Regions from separate parts of the Homo sapiens genome. Here region 2 is linked to region 1. The links are contacts of gene promoters, found by promoter capture Hi-C in human tissues and cell types (Jung and others, 2019). All regions are on one chromosome and are shown on one strand. The core of a region is centred on a gene start or on the middle of the fragment in contact, and the rest is flanking DNA. Distances in the headings are between cores, read along the strand shown. Region 1 holds the start of TAF1L (TATA-box binding protein associated factor 1 like). Region 2 overlaps LOC105376017 (a long non-coding RNA gene).

Region 1 (4,874 bases), core at 838-3,337:
AAACAACTCAAATACCTGTCAATGGGTGGCTGGTATACTCACCCAAGTGATAACTCTACAGTTATCAAAAATAAGAAGGAATCTCTTTATAAACTACTACAGAGTAATCTCCAAGATATATTTTTAAGCAAGAAAAGCAAGGTGGAAAAGTAAATACTATTGGTTATCTAAAAGGAAGAGATAAAAACATGCATACACAATTGATAGTATTTAAAAATAGAATGATAAATAATAACACTTTAAATATGATTACTTATAGAGGATTACATAAACAACCACCCAAGATAATCTGCAATCAAATTGTGAAAATCATTAAGACAGTTGACTAGACTAGTCCCAGCTACTTGGGGAGGCTGAGGCAGAAGAATCACTTGAACCTGGAGACAGAGGTTGCAGTGAGCCAAGATCGCGCCACTGCACTCCAGCCTGGGCAACAGAGCAAGACTGTCTCAAAAAAAAAAAAAAAGCATAAAGGAAAAATTTGATAAGATTGAAATTTTAAAATATATATTAAAGACACCATTAAAATAGATTAAAAGACATGTCACAGACTGGGGAAGTTATTTGCAAGCAAATCCATAATATATGAAGAACTGTTATACATTAAAGAAAAGACAGATAACCTAAAGATACTATAAAAATTAGATAAAAATATATGAAAAGGCAATTGACAGAAGAGGAAAAACAGTTGGTCAATAAGTGTATGAAAAGTTAGCCTTCAGTAGCAATCAGAAAAATACAAATTAAAACCACATTATCATTATACATTTATTAGAAATGAACAAAAATTAACAAATGACAATGCTAAGTGTTAGAATGGATGTGGAGAGGTGAGAACTTTTATACACTGCTGTTAGGTATGTAAAATGGTACAACTACTTTGGAGAACAATTTAGTAATAGCAAGTGTAGTTGAAAAAGCATATATTGTAAAATCTAGTAATTCCACTCCTAGATGTATACCCTGGAGAATGTGTCCTACATATGCTCAAGGAATCATATACATTATTTATAAGAGGAACAATTTGGGAACAATTTAAATGAACAAACATAGGAACATAGATAAATTGTAGCATAACCATACTGTAGAACACTATAGAGCTATAAAAATAGAATTGAATGCATCAACATAGTTGAATATCATAAACATAAATTTTATCCAGAAAACATTCTGGCTAAGAGTACATACAGTAAGGTCGGGTTTGGTGGCTCTTGCCTGTAATCTCAGCACTTTGGGAGGCCAAAGTGGGAGGATTGCTTGAGGCCAGGAGGAGTTTAAGACCAGCTTGGCTAACATAGTGAGATCCCATCTCTTAAAAAAAAGGAAGGGGGAAAAAAAAAACGAGTACACACAGTAAGATGCCTTTTATACAAAATTGTAAAGCATGACAATGCTATAGATTATTTGGAGAAGCATACATATGCAGTTCATGTATAAAGAGATTTACAGAGGCTGGGTGCAGTGGCTCACGCCTGTAATCCCAGCACTTTCGGAGACAGAGACGGGCTGACCATCTGAGGTCAGGAGTTTAAGACTAGCCTGGCCAATATGGTGAAATCTTGTCTCCACTAAAAATACAAAAAATTAGCCAGGCATGGTGGCTCATGCCTGTAATCCCAGCTACTGTGGAGGCTGAGGCAGGAATCTCTTGAACTCCTGAGGTGGAGGTTTCAGTGAGCCGAGATTGTGCCACTGCACGCCAGCCTGGGGCGACAGAGCAAGACTTTGTCTCAAAAACCAGCAAACAGGCTGGGCGCGGTGGCTTACGCCTGTAATCCCAGCACTTTGGGAGGCCGAGGCAGGCGGTTCACGAGGTCAGGAGATCGAGAGGCTAACATGGTGAAACCCCGTCTCTACTGAAAATACAAAAAAAAAAAAATTAGCCAGGCGTGGTGGCGAGCGCCTGTAGTCCCAGCTACTCAGGAGGCTGAGGCAGGAGAATGGCGTGAACCCAGAAGGCAGAGCTTGCAGTGAGCCAAGATCGCGCCACTGCACTCCAGCCTGGGCGACGTTGCGAGACTCCGTCTCAAAAAAAAAAAAAAAAAAAAGTTTTGCGGGTTTTTCCCCCCGCCCCTTTGCCCCCTCCCCCCGCCTTTATTCAGCTTCCGGTAGACGCTGGTAGGGTAAGGGAGCTAAGTAGATCACTTCCGGGCGACTGTTGTTTTATTTCCGGTTTATGCGACCCGGCTGCGATTTGCTGCTGAGGGCAGCAGCTACCGTCACTGCCGCCATCATGTCAGACTCGGACAGCGAGGAAGATTCATCTGGAGGTGGCCCATTTACTTTAGCGGGTATCCTTTTCGGCAACATCAGTGGAGCGGGGCAGCTGGAGGGGGAAAGCGTCTTGGATGATGAGTGTAAGAAGCACTTGGCAGGCTTGGGGGCTTTGGGGCTGGGCAGCCTAATCACTGAACTCACGGCAAATGAAGAATTGACTGGGACTGGCGGTGCCTTGGTAAATGATGAAGGGTGGATTAGGAGTACAGAAGATGCTGTAGACTATTCAGACATCAATGAGGTGGCAGAAGATGAAAGCCAAAGACACCAGCAGACGATGGGGAGCTTGCAGCCCCTTTACCACTCGGATTATGATGAAGATGACTATGATGCTGATTGTGAAGACATTGATTGCAAGTTGATGCCTCCTCCACCTCCACCCCCGGGACCAATGAAGAAGGATAAGGACCAAGATGCTATTACCTGTGTGTCTGAAAGTGGAGAAGACATCATCTTGCCCTCCATCATTGCCCCTTCCTTTTTGGCCTCAGAGAAAGTGGATTTCAGTAGTTACTCTGATTCAGAATCTGAGATGGGACCTCAGGAAGCAACACAGGCAGAATCTGAGGATGGAAAGCTGACCCTTCCATTGGCTGGGATTATGCAGCATGATGCCACCAAGCTGTTGCCAAGTGTCACCGAACTTTTTCCAGAATTTCGACCTGGAAAAGTGTTACGCTTCCTACATCTTTTTGGACCAGGGAAGAATGTCCCATCTGTTTGGCGGAGTGCTCGGAGAAAGAGGAAGAAGCATCGTGAGCTGATACAGGAAGAGCAGATCCAGGAGGTGGAATGCTCAGTAGAATCAGAAGTCAGCCAGAAGTCTTTGTGGAACTATGACTATGCTCCACCACCACCCCCAGAGCAGTGTCTCGCTGATGATGAAATCACGATGATGGTTCCTGTGGAGTCCAAATTTTCCCAATCAACTGGAGATGTAGATAAAGTGACAGATACCAAACCAAGAGTGGCTGAGTGGCGTTATGGGCCTGCCCGACTGTGGTATGATATGCTGGGTGTCTCCGAAGATGGCAGTGGGTTTGACTATGGCTTCAAACTGAGAAAGACACAACATGAACCTGTGATAAAATCTAGAATGATGGAGGAATTTAGGAAACTTGAGGAAAGCAATGGCACTGATCTTCTGGCTGACGAAAACTTCCTGATGGTGACACAGCTGCATTGGGAGGATTCTATCATCTGGGATGGGGAGGATATCAAACACAAAGGGACAAAACCTCAGGGTGCAAGCCTGGCAGGCTGGCTTCCTTCTATTAAGACTAGGAATGTAATGGCTTACAATGTTCAGCAAGGTTTTGCACCCACTCTGGATGATGACAAACCTTGGTACTCCATTTTTCCCATTGACAATGAGGATCTGGTGTATGGACGCTGGGAGGACAATATCATTTGGGATGCTCAGGCCATGCCCCGGCTGTTGGAACCTCCTGTTTTGGCACTTGATCCCAATGATGAGAACCTCATTTTGGAAATTCCTGATGAGAAGGAAGAGGCCACCTCTAACTCCCCCTCCAAGGAGAGTAAGAAGGAATCATCTCTGAAGAAGAGTCGAATTCTCTTGGGCAAAACAGGTGTCATCAGGGAGGAACCACAGCAGAACATGTCTCAGCCAGAAGTGAAAGATCCATGGAATCTCTCCAATGATGAGTATTATTTCCCCAAGCAACAGGGTCTTCGGGGCACCTTTGGAGGGAATATTATCCAGCATTCAATTCCTGCTATGGAATTATGGCAGCCCTTCTTTCCCACCCACATGGGGCCCATCAAAATCCGGCAGTTCCATCGCCCACCTCTGAAAAAGTACTCATTTGGTGCACTCTCTCAGCCAGGTCCCCATTCAGTCCAACCTTTGCTAAAGCACATCAAAAAAAAGGCCAAGATGAGAGAACAAGAGAGGCAAGCCTCAGGTGGTGGAGAGTTGTTTTTTATGCGCACACCTCAGGATCTCACAGGCAAAGATGGAGATCTTATTCTTGCAGAATATAGTGAGGAAAATGGACCCTTAATGATGCAGGTTGGCATGGCAACCAAGATAAAGAACTATTATAAACGGAAACCTGGCAAAGATCCTGGAGCACCAGATTGTAAATATGGGGAAACTGTTTACTGCCATACATCTCCTTTCTTGGGCTCTCTCCATCCTGGCCAATTACTGCAGGCACTTGAGAACAACCTTTTTCGTGCTCCAGTGTATCTTCATAAGATGCCAGAAACTGATTTTCTGATCATTCGGACAAGACAGGGTTACTATATTCGGGAATTAGTGGATATTTTTGTGGTTGGCCAGCAGTGTCCCTTGTTTGAAGTTCCTGGGCCTAACTCCAGAAGGGCCAATATGCATATTCGAGACTTTCTACAGGTTTTTATTTACCGCCTTTTCTGGAAGAGTAAAGATCGGCCACGGAGGATACGAATGGAAGATATAAAAAAAGCCTTTCCTTCCCATTCAGAAAGCAGCATCCGGAAGAGGCTAAAGCTCTGCGCTGACTTCAAACGCACAGGGATGGATTCAAACTGGTGGGTGCTTAAGTCTGATTTTCGTTTACCAACGGAAGAAGAGATCAGAGCTAAGGTGT
Region 2 (4,874 bases), core at 1,445-3,944, 83 kb before region 1:
AGTGTGGCATGGGCAGAAGGGGCTGACATGGAGTTTCCAAGTTGTTTTATCCCCAGACCCTGCAGCTGAGATCTGTATGGCCTGTTTGTTTTCACCGCCCCAGAAGTTCTGCTCCAAGCAACTTGATCTAAACCTACTGCAGCATGGTTCTAAGACCTTTCATGGGAAGCTGACGGCTGCTGGTGCAAACTAATGAGTATTTTCAGACACAAAGCCTCCAATTGAGATTATGAAGTAATTTATTAGGCTCCTACTGCAGTGAGCACACACCGTTCCTGCTCAGAATGGACTAATTAAAAACTTCCCTACCACGTACAATTTCAACTGTGCTGGAAAAAAAGGAACAATACCTCAGTGGTAATTTTTCATAAAAAGGAATTGATAACAATTTCTAAAAAAAATTAGTAGGAGCCTTATATTGCTTAAATAGACAAAACTATCATCTGTGTGTTTTGGTGTGTAATGCGGAGTGCTATTGTCGGTGCAGAATAGATCTAATTTCCCACCTCTAACTCTGATGTGATGCTTTCCCTGAGTTTAACTGAAACAAAAGTAAGAGTCAGTATTCCTAGTTGTAGAGAACAACTGAGTTGAAAGGCGATTTCATTTTGGGGGTGATGGTAGTCATATAACCCCAACAGCCCTAGATGTTCTGGGCTCAGGAGTCCTTTAATAGCCAAATATCCAACATCTGAGCTACTAGTATTCTACCAAGATAGCCTCTCCAGGGTACCCTGGGAACTTCTCAGGAACCTTACACATTTCAAAATTCACCCAGGTTGTTGCTTGTCACCTTGGCCTGACATCAGGCCTCTAACTGTAGTAACTTTTTATCTGTGTTAAAACTCAGACTGTTATAAATGACCTGGGCACTGTTTTATCCAAACAAGAATGTTAAAACAATTTTTACCAAGCCTCCGGCATCCCCATTCACATTTGCCCACTGCATGACACTGAGATCTCTACAGCCTTATGCAGCCCATTCTGGACCTGTTTGAGAACCACACCTGCATCTTGATGATTCAAAACCAGAAAAGTAACAAAAGTAAAAAGAGGTTTTATGATCCATTTTGAACCATTCAGAAACTTGGGAAGAACTTCCCCTTCTCCATACTGTATCTACTCTTTTCACTTTCAGTTTGGGGAACACTCACTGACTTTTCTTAAGAAACTTGATTGTCTAGGATAAATAGCTAATGTATGCAGGGCTTAATACATAGGTGATGGGTTGACAGGTGCAGCAAACCACCATGGCACACATTTACCTGTGCAACAAACCTGCACATCCTGCACATATATCCCGGAACTTAAAAAATAAAATAAAATTTAAAGAAATAAATGATTTTTAAAATAAAATAAATCATTTAAACAGCAAAAAAAAAAAAAAAAAGGAAAAAGAAAGAAACTTAATTCTCCTTTGCCTGGTGCGTAATAAACTCAGCTTCAATTTGAGACTACATTGGTAGTCTTTGTGTTGATTCAGTGACAGTGGACACTGGTTGCTGTATTAATTACCCAAATCTCAACCAAGATGGGGCTGGTACATTTAAAAAAGCTTTACTGAAGAATGGGGTAACAGGAGGAATGACACAGTCAGGGTGCCGTAAAACTGGACACCACGTGTGTCTTTTCTCTGGTCCTCTGGTCATGCTCTTCCACAGGGAACACCTCCTGGTGCTGGATCCCCTCACAACCAGCCTGAGGCCTTGCAGGGGCTCATTTGCTTCCCTACAATAGGAGTGCTTTTACGAGTTCCTGCCTATCACAGATCCAGAGCCCCACTCCACTAACACCCAGGGGAACACTCCATTTCTCCTCATCTCAGTCTACCGCCAGTCTCCCAGTAGTATAGTAATCCTGGGAATGCCTCTGTATCATCAATAAAGACTACCCTTACGTTCCATGCAGAGCAGTTGAGCCCTGATTGCCTCTAAAAACTTTCCATTGCAATTGAAGATGATAGCCTCATGTTTGCATAAGGGGTCATTAAAGTTTTCCAGACACAAGAAACAATGTTCCCTCAGAGGTGAATCTAAGCCTCCATTTTTAAAGAACTAGAAAAACTGTTGATTTTTTTTTTAAATCCCTCTCCCTCCCTTCTGTCCTCTCTTTTTCTCTTTCTCCCGCCCACCACCCCCGCCCAACACACACACACTTTGGAGTCTAGTTGAGAGCATCTATCTATTTATACCTACAAAGACTCATTTGCTTGTACCATGTGCCAGGCACAGTACCCAGAACAGAGGAGGCAGAGAGAAATAATCCTTGCCCTCAGGAAGCTCATGGTGTAATAGGGGATCCCCAGTGACAATTGGGGGATAAGAACAATAGAAGGCTGGGTGTGGTGGCACACACCTATAATCCCGGAGGATTGCTCCCAGGAGTTTGAGCACCCTGGGCCACATGGTGAGACATCGTCTTTACAAAAAATAAAATTAGCCAGGTGTACTGGTATGTGCCTGTAGTCCCAACTACTAGGGAGGCCAAGGTGGGAGGATTGCTTGAGCCCCAGGAGGTTGAGGCTGAGCTCGTGCCACTGCACTCCAGCCTGGGCAACAGAGCAGGACCCTGTCTCATATAAAAACAAAGCAAAACAAAACAAAATAGAACAATAGAAAATTGGCATATAAGATGCAGAAACAACAAGGAGCAGGTAAGTCAGAAAAGGCTTCCAGGAAGAGGCTGCCTGTGAGTGAGTTTTAAAGCACAAATAAGAATTATTTGAATTATAAGAAGTTATGAGATGGATGAAGTGGGGAAAGATTTCAGGCAGTGGAAACAAAGGCAAAGATATGGCAACAAGAAATAGGATGCTACTAATTACTAGGGTTGGGTAAGCCTAAAGTGCAGGTTCAATGCAGGGGGAGTGGGAGGATCTGAACCCTCTAAGGATGCTGGATTTTATTTCCCAGATGATGAGGAAAACTTGAAGCATTTTCGTAGGGTGGTGGTGACACGATCAGAGTCGTGTTTTAGATCCCACGGACAGAACCTCCACTTCTGGTTGGAGGCTGTTAAACTGCAGGCGAGGATACCAATCAGAAAAATAGTCCAAGTGAGAGGCGCGGAGGCCTCAGTGGTGGCTGCAGGAAAGAAAGGGAAAAAAGAGTTGTGAGGACTCTTTGAGAGGTTCAATCAGTGGGATTTGTTCTCTGATTTAATGTGGAGGGTGAAGGAAAAGGAATCCAATGGGACAGCAGTGTTTCTGATGGGCGGTGCCACCAGCTAAAACCTGGAGCCCATGGAGGGAAGCAGGTGATTTGGGAGGGAAAGCGGTGGAGGAGAGGGGTGGAGAAGGGGGGGTGGGAGCTTTGCCAAACGATGAATTCTGGTTTGGGAATGTCATGAATCTAATTTCTTGCCTGACTTCTGAAGATGACTGGTTAGTAGTTGCACATATAGGTATGAAATTCAGCAGTCATGTATGGACTGATGATAGAGACTTTAGGGGCTAATTATAATCATTAAAGGGTATTTTACATTCCAAGGAGGAGTGTAGAGTGAGAAGAGAAAGGATAAAGGGCTGACTATAGAATCCTGAGATATGACACCTTCATTTTTATAATTTTTACAGCATCTCTGCCTTTATATTATTTATTTAGAATATTTGGCAAATAATACAAGGGAAAGCTAATCCATCTGTAAACTAGACGCTTTTCAGATAAAGCAAATCAGCTTGAGATACCAGACAAGCACATATCAGTGTTCAGTAAATATTTTTTGAATGCATCAGGATGAATACTCATTTTGCTCAGTTTTATAGGAAGCACCCTGAGAGGAGGGCAGCACCTGTGCTTTAATTTGCAGGAGCATGAATAGTACCAATGAGTGATGGCCACAGTGCTGCGTAAGAAGGTTAGAAGACAGAAGCAGCATGTACTCTAACCATAGCAACGAGACGGGGGCAGCAGCATCCAGAAAGTTATAGATCTCTTCTGAAGAATGTTTGCTGCCATGAACCCTTACAACTAAGCAGCAACAATATCCCTTTTTTCTGAATAGTAGAAGAATGACTTTGGTGATATGAAGGAAGGGGCGTTGGTGGCAGTAAAGTATGCATTGATTTCTTTATAAGATAAAGAACAAGGCACAGCCACTCTAGACCGTTTGACAAAGACCAAATCCTACTCTTCCACAGATTTCTGTGTATTCACCCAAATTATCTCCAGTGCCTCTGGTGTCCCACAGAAACACCCATGTTTTGTAGTTTAACCTAAGCTGCGATCTAGAATTCACACCAAAACCCACAGTATGAAATAGAACACTTCCATTCACAGGGACTCGATGGTCATGAAAATGTGTAGTGAGCAGCTAGCTCAGCTCCAGAGGCTGTGAAAACCAAAGAGTTGGAGAGATCCTTCTGACAGCCTTGCCAGGCAAGATTGGAGCTTTCCAGCCTCTGTAAAACACAATCTGGCATCCCACACTCTCACAGCATTTCTGATTTAAAGTTGGCTTCATTGCTAGAGGCTGGTATTGCCAAACATCATTTCTGTCCCAGAGCTCAGCTGCCGGACAGAAATGACCCTTTACAAAAAGAGCTGTCTCAGCAAGTAGTTCAGATGAGGGAGTGACATAGTGAAGTTCCAGTTGCTTTGTGCAACTTGCAAGCACTCCCCCAGGCAGTGTGTGACATGTAACATCCATCTCATTTTAACCTTTGGTTGTCTGTGGACCTCTGATTGCCCATGGGATAGTCAGAAACACAAAGGTAAATGCCACGTGGCTGAGATTTTGGGGGTGGATTACTGAGCATGCTCTAGGCACGCTAGCCTGTAGAGTTTTGTAGACTCCACTTCTGGTTGGACAAATTTTAGTGGTCACAACCTCTTAGGCTGGCAGTTCTTAACCAGGTGACTACTTGTTTTGTTAAA

What was found. The method cuts DNA at HindIII sites, captures the fragments that hold promoters and counts their contacts. A contact is called where the count stands out against the background at its distance.
Region 2: a fragment that was not itself captured here is called in contact with the fragment with the promoter of TAF1L in region 1 in 2 of the 25 tissues and cell types used here (dorsolateral prefrontal cortex and lymphoblastoid cells).

Annotation. Positions count from the first base shown.
Region 1 is chr9:32,632,882-32,637,755 of GRCh38, reverse strand. It overlaps TAF1L (TATA-box binding protein associated factor 1 like), which reads left to right and starts at 2,087. Exons shown (of 1, transcript NM_153809.2): 1 at 2,087-4,874. The coding sequence starts at 2,177. The HindIII fragment of the contact is 9,470 bases long and covers 1-4,874 here.
Region 2 is chr9:32,716,845-32,721,718 of GRCh38, reverse strand. The region is part of intron 4 of LOC105376017 (a long non-coding RNA gene); the gene reads left to right. Among named protein-coding and RNA genes, the nearest start is that of TMEM215, 64 kb to the left of the region's middle. The HindIII fragment of the contact is 3,870 bases long and covers 760-4,629 here.